3 separate regions of the Homo sapiens genome follow, and all the other regions are linked to region 3. Evidence: promoter capture Hi-C in human tissues and cell types (Jung and others, 2019). All regions are on one chromosome and are shown on one strand. Each heading gives the region's core, a stretch centred on a gene start or on the middle of the fragment in contact. The rest is flanking DNA. Distances are from core to core; before and after follow the strand shown. Region 1 overlaps NTRK2 (neurotrophic receptor tyrosine kinase 2). Region 2 overlaps NTRK2 (neurotrophic receptor tyrosine kinase 2). Region 3 holds the start of NTRK2 (neurotrophic receptor tyrosine kinase 2).

Region 1 (3,061 bases), core at 352-2,851, 330 kb before region 3:
GCAGCGGTATAAACAGTTGTTGAAATAGATGAAGGAGTGAAATTTTCACCCTCCACACTTTTTCTCCTCCCATTTGTTTTTGTCTCACTTTAATTATGACTGCTTCCTCCATGCTGGCCTCCAGGAATGCACTGCATCCCTTTTTAATGATCTCACAAATGAAGCTTTTCATGTTTCACCTTAGCACAGCTCAAGGTGAGCTGAATGGCTTTGCTAAACTCTAAAGGAAAACCATAGGACAATAAACACTAAGGACACAATAAAGAGAAATATTGTGTTGCACAGAGTCCAGCCTTCTAGTAGGCTCTCTCGGGGCTGATTCACCAAGCTCACTCAGCTCCGTCCCCCAACTGTTTCTCCAACTCAGCAGGCCACCTACTGGAGCCCCTCACCTCCTAGCCTGGCCTGACCTGGCCTGATGTTGGGGGCACCATTTGTAGACAACCCTATCCACCCCCAGAAATGCATTCCTAGACATCTTGAGACCTTCATGGTCAAGACATGGTGAGATTCTTCTCTGTTCCTGCTGTCCCTGCCCTACTTGCAGAATGACCATCCTCTTTGCTTCAGGGGTCAGACTTTACCTTTCCATATCCATGTAACCAAACTTGAATAAAACATAATACTGCAACCATCGAATAACAAGAAGTATATATGCTGATGGCTAGTTCTTTACAGTGTGTATTTAGTAAACCTTTCAGAAGATGAGAGTGTTTATTTTTGAGGAATTTGTGAAAGGCTTTTATCCATTTGCTGAACACTTGAACGGTCACTTCATCACCTCTCTAAATTAAATCACTGAAGTTGCACCATTATTTGAAAGTGGAAAAAGTGGTTACCCCTGGAGTGAAAAAATTAGGTTCAGCAGAAGAGGAACCCAAACTGAGCATTATAAAGTAAAATGCCGCCAAGAGACACCCACAGCACCTGGGAAGCTTCTGCATCCACGCATGTGAGCTCACACCAGATGCAAACCTCGAGCCTTCATGGGCCAGGCATTTCATGATCTTCACTAATGAAAACTCAGTCAGTTAGAACTGGCCTCATTCTGATAGTCATCCTCTTGGGGTCTTCAGAAATTGTCAACAGGCTTGCTTTGCATTTCTATCACCCAGGGCAGTAGGGGGTAAGCTTGTGCTTAACTGGAGGGAAGCAGGCAAAGGTGTGGCTAAAAACCACCTTCCAAGTAATGAGGCAGTACTGCAAGGGGAATAGTGCCTGACTACCAGTAACCAAGGTAAGGTCAAGAACAGGCAGGGGTGAGTATTAGCAGGGAGATTTCCTGTTTGCTGCAATCAGATTTTCTGTCATGAATGGCCATTAGGTCATTAACTGTTTGAATATTCAGATGAGGACAGCTGTGAAGTCCCCTTCCCCGCATACCTCTGATGCTCCATAATAGGATACTAGGGGGGCGTTTTCAATTGTCCCCTCCCTGCCCTATTCAGAAATTCTGGCCTTCAGGTGAGGAAAAAGGAGTTGTGTTTACTACCTGTTCTAGAGAAGGCTCTGTGTCAGTCAGGGGCCAGCGCAGCATCTCACAGCTGGATCCAACTTCTGCCCCAATTATGGCACGGGCCCTATAATGGCCCACTACCTTAGATCCTTCTCCTCTCTCAGTCTGTGTGGGGAAAGAACTGGGAGCAGGAGTGAGCAAGAGATATGGAGCCATTGGTCTTTTGATAGAATGTTCCAGAAGACAGGTAATTAACTCTCATCCTTTCTCCCTCTCTCTGCTACCCCATCCCCAACCTGAAACCAAATAAGGGCTTCAAGAGAATTCCTCATAAAGATTGGGGATGCTGTAAGAAGGGGTGCTGGGACCTCATTGTGCATTTGAGCTTCTGTTTAGACAACAGGCTTGTGTGTACTGCAAAGGAAGCACAAAGGGACGGACAAAGATGGTGGAGCTGAGAGGACCAGTGGCAGAGATCGCTTGCCCATCATCTGAAAAGGCAAAGACATGTGAGTCTTTCAAGAATAAGTGGGCACTGTGGAAAATGTCTACTTTTAGCCTTTTTGTCTGTACTCTGGCTGCCCAAGGGTGACCCATGGAGAAATAGTGACAACAGAAAAGAGAATGACAACTGAGAAGTAACCAGATGTATATTCTCCATCCTCAGTCCCTCCTCCAGGCCCTAACCAAACAGGAAGAACTAGCACCAGAAGAGGGAGAGGGGAGAATTCCAGGCTGTGACACCAGATGGGGAAGCTTTGAATCTGATGTAAGAATAAAGTTTTAAACTAGACTCAATTGTTTCATAACTAAAAGTGAACTGAAAGTCTTGGAATCTACCTGAGATGCGATTAAGTGGTGACCATACTGGCCCCCAAAATGCTGTAATGTGTACCACTACACACCTATCACGCCTATTAGAATGGCTAAAATCCAGAACACTGACAACATCAAATGTTGATGAGGATGTGGAGCAACAGGAACTCTCATTTATTACTGGTTGGAATGCAAAATGATACAGCCATTTTGGAAGACAATTTGGCAGTGTCTTACAAAGCTAAACATTCTCTTACCATATGACCCAGTAGTCATGCTCCATGGTATTTACCCAAAAGGAATTGAAAACTTATGTCCACAGAAACCTGCACATGAATGTCTACACCCGCTTTATTCATAATTGCCAAAATTCGGAAGCAGCTAAGATGTCCTTCAGTAGGCGAATGGATAAACTGCAGTACATCTATACAATATAATATTATTTAGAACTAAAAAGATATGAGTTATTAAGCCATGAAAAGACATGGAGGTACTTTAAATGCCTATTATTAAGTAAAAAGAAGCCAACCTGAAAAGGCTACATAATGTCATATAGTTGGAATCAAGTATGATTCCAATTGCATGACATTCTGGAAAAGCCAGAACGACGGAGACAGTAAAAAAAGATCAGTGGTTTCCAGTGGCTAGGGGATAGGGAAGGATGAATAGGAGACACACGGAGGATTTTTAGGGCAGTGAAACTATTCTGTGTAATACTACAATGCTGGATACATGTCATTATACGTTTGTCAAAACCCATAGAAAGCACATCAAGAGTGAACCTTAATG
Region 2 (3,299 bases), core at 406-2,905, 260 kb before region 3:
TCACCAGTAACTTTGAAGCACCAGTGTGTTCTTTCCTGATTGTACCTACATTCCTACTTATCTCCCAGAGCTTGTTCAGCTTCACCTGTTTCTGAACCTACATTAAATGGAGTTATACAGTACGAATTCTTGCAGATCTTGAATCTCTCTCTCAACGGTGTCCTTGAGATTGGGCTGTATTGTGTGTGTAGTATGAATTATTTCCCTTATACCACTGTATAATATTCTGTGGAAGGACTGTACCACCATGTATTTATCCATTCTATGTTGATGGACAGCCTGCTTGGTTTCTTTTTGGACACAACTTTATAGAAAATGCAAGTGGTAATTAAGATTTTGATTTAATGGGATTTTTCTTTCCCCCCGATAATTCATGTGGTTCAGAGCTATGAATGCTTTTGTGAGCCTCTGGGAACTCAGGGTGATAAAAATCAAAAGGTCTTTTTATGAGCAACAATATTGATGAATATAAGAACGTATATTAATTTCTCATGCTCCAGTGACAACGACTGAATTTAAGAGGAGAGAAATGTGTTCATTAGGGAGAGTGCCCATATAAAGACACAAATGTAATTCTTGCAGATAATTAGCTGCCCTATTTAAATCTAATATTTAACTCCCTGGTTGTCACATGTTCATTGGGAATTAAATTCCCACTTGATTTACTTCTCACTCTAACCAGAGCAAGGCAAGTATTTAACGTTGGTTTTTTTTGTTTTTTTTTTTTTTGCATTTTATTACATACCTTCTTTCTTTTCGCAGTCCAAGCAGGAGAAAAATTTGGTGGAAAATAAGTTTTTAAGGCCAAAGCCACAATTTCATTATTTCCAAAACTAAAATTGATTAAAGCAGTTTTTCCACGTTGACCTTGAAAGCAGGAGAGCTGCATCTTTTCTTTAGGAAATGGGCTACTATATTTGCATTTATCTGCTTTGTTATGTTTTGGGGCACCGATAATCTGAGCAGTGTCCTTTTGCCAATGTATTCTCTCTAAATGGAATAAATTTCTCTCTCTCTCTCTCTCTCTCTTTTTTTTTTTGAGACAGAGTCTCGCTCTGTCGCCCAGGCTGGAGTGCAGTGGAACAATCTCGGCTCACTGCAACCTCCGCCTCCCAGGTTCAAGCAATTCTTCTGCCTCAGCCTCCTGAGTAGCTGAGACTACAGGTGTGTGCCACCACACCTGGCTAATGTTTTTGTATTTTTAGTAGAGATGGGGTTTCACCATATTGGCCAGGCTGATCTTAAACTCCTGACCTCGTGATCCACCCACCTTGGCCTCCCAAAGTGCTGGGATTACAGGTGTGAGCCACCGTGCCTGGCCAAATTTCTCTTTTTTAAGACTGAGCTACTTAGGGGCACAGGAATTTTGTATTTGTATTCCTGACAGGGCCTCACAGTGCTGTGCATACAATTGGTGATTTATAAATATCTGTGAAAAAATATGTTTAATAATGATAACCACAGACAAGTACTACTTGACTATGTTATTTGAGTTAATTGAGGTCAACTCTTCTAAGCCTGTAGGTGATAAAATAGCTCTATTCTCTGGGATGGCAGCAGTGGGAAGAACATCTAATCTGAAGCTTTCCTGTCATTGAGCTAAGAACGTCTTCCCATTCTCCTTTAAGAAGGCATCAAAACTCATCCCAACTTGCCCATTTTCCATTTCCCTACAACACCACAGGAAGTCTCTAGTTATCCAGACACTATCCTCCCAATGTGGATCGCTTATGCCCCTTCAGCTCCCCTGGACACCCCTCCACGGTGTACTCTGAGCTCACTGCCTGTGACTCCACAAGCTCCTTATTTCCTCAACTCTCCTTAAACATCCCTTTACCTCCCTGATTTAAATAAAACCTCGGCAATGCACCAAGGATGCCCAAGCCTCTCAATTGGACGCCATCTCTATCCCTCATCCCCTGGTACTTCAGGGCTTACACACCTGATTTCTGATCCTTTACTCCCTCTCCCTCGTGCTAGAGCCCCAGCTGTCTTGAAGCTTCTATCTTAGGGAGCCATTACCCTGCACCACCTCTGCTGACATCTCGGTTGCTCCTCTCACCCACTGAGCTCTGGGCCCACATTTTCCCTCTCCACCCTACCAGTGCCTTCCTTCTCAGGGGCCGAGCTCAGAAAGGCTCAGTAACCTGCCTAAGCTGTAACAACACTGGGCTGCCATTTCTCCTCCAGCTTTCAGCAGTGGAGCTAAGAGGCCAGACATCCAAAGGTTTAGTTTGGCTGATTGTGTGACATTAGGCTAACTTTTCCTGAGAGTAAGACTTTTGTAATGAAGGAAGCAATGCCCTGATTCACATTCTGGACAAACTCCTATCTCATTGTGGTCTAAGACTTTGAATATCAGTATCTTGAAGGGCTCTGTGGACATTTTTGATTCACTTTACACAAAATATCCTGAGTGAAGCATGCCTAAGGATTCCATGATAAATAAGCTATCACATAAGCATGCAAAATTCTCACATGCTTCCTTTCTCTGTGATCAGCCAATCTGCTGCTCTTAACTTTGGAGACTTGAGCAAATCACCTTAAACCCAACATAAGCAACTGTAATAAGAAATAAATAAGAGGCTGGGTGTGGTGGCTCACACCTGTAATCCCAGCACTTTGGGAGGCCGAGGTGGGCTGATCACTTGAGGTCAGGAGTTTGAGACCAGCCTGGCCAACGTGGTGAAACCCTGTCTCTATTAAAACTACAAAAATTAAACGGACATGGTGGCATGCACCTGTAATCCCAGCTACCCGGGAGACTGAGGCAGGAGAATTGTTTGAATCCGGGAGGCAGAGGTTGCAGTGAGCAGGGATCGTGCCACTGCACTCCAGCCTGGGCAACAGAATGAGACTCTCTCAAATTTAAAAAAAAAAAAAGGAACCAAACTCTACCATGAATGACTTCCTAGATTTGAAGGAAAACTCAAAACAATCACTTAATTTAAAAAAAAGAGTTTTATAGAAAAATTTCTGTGTAAAATTCACCCTGCCAAAGGAAAAGGAGGAATCAAATAAGAGCTATAGGAAATACACCACCAAACTCGTGTGATCTGCACCCTGTCTGGGCAACCCTGTCACTGATGGAATTTTTCAGAATGGAAATGTGGTGCCCTTGGTCATTTGTCCCATGAGTGCCAGAAGTGAACTGACTTCCAGCTCTGTGTTCGTATCACATTAGAGTCCTGAAAAATGCATTGTGTCGCAATGTGTCTTCAGCAGCTGACATAGATGCTTGTAGTTTCAGATTGCTTAAATCAAATTCTGGTATAGATTCCTCCCAGAAGTACATATTC
Region 3 (3,102 bases), core at 498-2,997:
CCGATATATAAAATGAAAAGGGAAATTGGTTAACTTAAATCTCAAAAAAGATGTTAAGGGAGAGACTGTCACTTCCCTCAACAGATTTGGGAAAGTTAATTATTTTAACCTCTTTTCTAGTGAATATTAATGGAACTTCTAACACAACATACACACAGCACTTTATGAAACAAAAATGCCCAAAACTAAGTTAGTGCATACTGAAAGCCTAAAGCACACCCAGCAGAGCTTTGAAATATAAAAAGCATAGTGAGTTCCTTCCCACGAGGAATAAATATATAATCGGCATATGTATATCTATATTTGAAACTTATTCTAAAGTGTCACACTTCTCCCTGCACTAGCAGTCCCAAGCCAGTGAAACAGCAGGTAACTGACAGATGACCCTGTCCTGCATCCCTTGTCTTTGACTTCTCCCCACTCTTGGGACAGCATTCACTTCCAGGACCTACCCACCTGGCCAGCTCGGGCCCTAGGGGCAAGGAGAAAAAGGAGGAAAAGCTCCAGGAACTCACATTTCGGTGATGTTCTCAGGATCTACACTGTTAGGCTCCAATCTCGGAAATGCCACGATGCCAGGAGAAGGGTCGCTGCACCAGATCCGAGAGGCACTGCATTTGCAGGACGTGGGACAGGCGAAAGCGGCCCTCCAGAAGCCCACAACCAGCCAGCAGAAGCCCCAGAGCCGCGCCATGGCGGGTCCATGCCACCTTATCCAGGACGACATCCCTAGCAGCCAGTGCCAGCCCGAGTGCCTGTCCCCGCGCTGCACCGGCCGCTTTCCCCCACCCGTGCGGGGAGGCCTTCCCTGCGCTTGCGGCTCTCTTAACTCCTCGGTGCTTGTTGCGGGCGTGCCGAGTCCAGCTTATCAGAGGCTGAGCTGGTCCGGAGCGAAGAGTGTTCCGGCAGGCGGCAGGGTTCACAGTGGCCCCGGCATAGCGAACCGCTTTACAGGGGGGCGCTACCGCTGCTCGGAGCTCCGCGGCGGCCGTCGCTGCATGGCCCGGCGCGCCGGGCACCGACCGGCGGCGCTCCCGGGACTCTCTGGGGCGCAGATTCCTTGTTAGATGCGAATGGGGGTCCGGTATGCACCTCGAGGCTGAGGACAAACAGACACGCGTAAGACTGAGCGTAGGACCCCCAACACCACTAATTGGGGCACTCTCCCTCTCTGCTCGCGTCATCCCCACCCCGACCCCAGCCCGGAGACTGTGGATGGATGAGTGCCCAGCTCCGGCCCAGGAATCAACTTGCCCCGCGATGGCACTGACGCCGCTGGAGCCACCAGTGTGCCCACTCTCTCTTCGAGCCTGAGGCCAAGGGAGGGGAGGTAGGGAAAGGGTCCCCAAGACAGGATTCCATGGTACAGGCCGGGCGAAGGACCCTTTAAAGGGGAATGCGGAGACTGCCGGCGGCTTTGGCTCCGCGACGGGGCCCCCGAATGATGCTGCAGAATCCGCCACGGCCGCTGGGTGCCGGTGGCGCGGGCAGGTGGCGCGGCACGTCCCACCTGGGGAGTAGCCGAGGCCGCCCCAGGGGGAGACAGTGAGGGCCGAGGCGACCGAGGGCACTATCTGCGCTGCTCACCCGGGCTCCGGCGCCTCACGCCCGCCGGCGGCGCCTGGGTCCAGGCTCCTGCTACCGCCGGGGACTGAGCGCGTAGAGCGCGAGCGAAGCAGCCAGCGAGGCTCCTGCTCCAACCCAATTCCGGGAGCCGCCGCCGCCGCCTCTGCTACTGCTGGCGAAGTGACGTGAGGGCTGACGCAGAGCAGGGGCAGAAACTCCAGAAAATTAGTCTGAAATCCAAAAACACACACACGCTCATACACACACAAACCCATAACACCCTCCAGACAAAAGCACCAGGGAGGGGAGGGGAATCTGGGGGCGAGCAGGGAGGAGGGAGGCATCGGTGCCACTGGCCAGAAGCAGACAGCAGCAGCATGTGGGAGTTCACACACGCGCGCACACACGCACACATCCTGGCCGTGTAGACATGCACGCGCGTGCGTGTGTGTGTCTGTGTGTGTGTGTGCATTTACATCCAGGTACCTCTAAGATGAACCGTTCCTCCGTTCGACGCCTCCCGGTCCCTAATTCACACCACAGTCTCTTCTACAATCGCGGTAGAGGCTGTCTCCCTTTTTGAAATGGAAACCGTGCTTGGTTCAGCTCTGAAAAATGCGCTGATTCTTATTATAGGAATCCTCCCTCCCTTCTCCCTCCCCGCGTTCTCCTTTCCCACCCTGCCTAAAAGGGAGGGCAAGCTATCCTAAAAATAAATAAATGTTGTAAACACCAAAACGTGTTCTGCATTGGTAACCAAGGATCACCGCCCCCATTCCGGGCCACCTATTTGGGGATCGGTGGTTTTGGAGGGGCTTCCTGTTGGTGCTTTTGCAGAGGGAAGGGAGTCTCCAAACACAATTCTAGCTCTCTAAGTGGGTCTTTTTCCTGCCGTTTTCTGCCATCACACGCCCGGGAAATAGAGACATGTGAGGGGAAGGGAGCGCGCCTGATGCGTATTCTAAATGCTCGGTGGCCACCCTGGCCTGTCCGATGTGTGGCGCCGCGTCATTTTCTCTCATCCTTTAACCTGACGGGATGTAGCCATTCCCAGATCGTGGATTCACTCCCCGCGATGCCCACCCCCACGTAGGGCATCCCAAGCCCTTGCTCCCCTGCCGTACCTTGCGCGTGTTCATGTGTGCTAGGGTGTGCGCGAACGCGTGCCCTGCGCCCGCGCTGCCCGGAGCACGATATGCATCCAGCTACGAAGAAGCCAGGCGCGGGCAGAGCCTCGGGGTCTCACTAGGGACAAATTAGGCGATCCGGGAGGGTCGGGTGACAAACCGTAACTATTCTGCGGGTGCAGTTAAATGATGGCTGCGGGGCATTTGCAAGCCTTGTCTGAGAATCCGTCTTCCCTTTTGCGGCTCGGAATCTGTTTTTCCGCAGTCATTTAAAAGAGAACGGGGAAAATACACCGCAGTGCCTGACACTTCCGAGGGCTCTGGTGCCCCCGCGCGGGGAGAGAGCGCCCGGCACGCTCCGGAGCACCAGCCCATGGCCCGGGTCGCGGCGGGCACAGCGCTGGGGGCG

What was found. Contacts are between HindIII fragments. The study calls those that stand out against the background at their distance.
Region 1: a contact is called between a fragment that was not itself captured here and the fragment with the promoter of NTRK2 in region 3, in 1 of the 25 tissues and cell types used here (dorsolateral prefrontal cortex).
Region 2: a fragment that was not itself captured here is called in contact with the fragment with the promoter of NTRK2 in region 3 in 1 of the 25 tissues and cell types used here (dorsolateral prefrontal cortex).

Annotation. Positions count from the first base shown.
Region 1 is chr9:85,000,271-85,003,331 of GRCh38, reverse strand. The region is part of intron 17 of NTRK2 (neurotrophic receptor tyrosine kinase 2); the gene reads right to left. Among named protein-coding and RNA genes, the nearest start is that of NTRK2, 330 kb to the right of the region's middle. The HindIII fragment of the contact is 3,088 bases long and covers 58-3,061 here.
Region 2 is chr9:84,929,147-84,932,445 of GRCh38, reverse strand. All of the region lies in intron 14 of NTRK2 (neurotrophic receptor tyrosine kinase 2), which reads right to left. Among named protein-coding and RNA genes, the nearest start is that of NTRK2, 260 kb to the right of the region's middle. The HindIII fragment of the contact is 3,950 bases long and covers 1-3,299 here.
Region 3 is chr9:84,668,374-84,671,475 of GRCh38, reverse strand. It overlaps NTRK2 (neurotrophic receptor tyrosine kinase 2), which reads right to left and starts at 1,747. Exons shown (of 19, transcript NM_006180.6): 1 at 1,588-1,747; 2 at 516-1,099. The coding sequence starts at 727. RefSeq lists a silencer at 3,003-3,102. The HindIII fragment of the contact is 14,152 bases long and covers 1-3,102 here.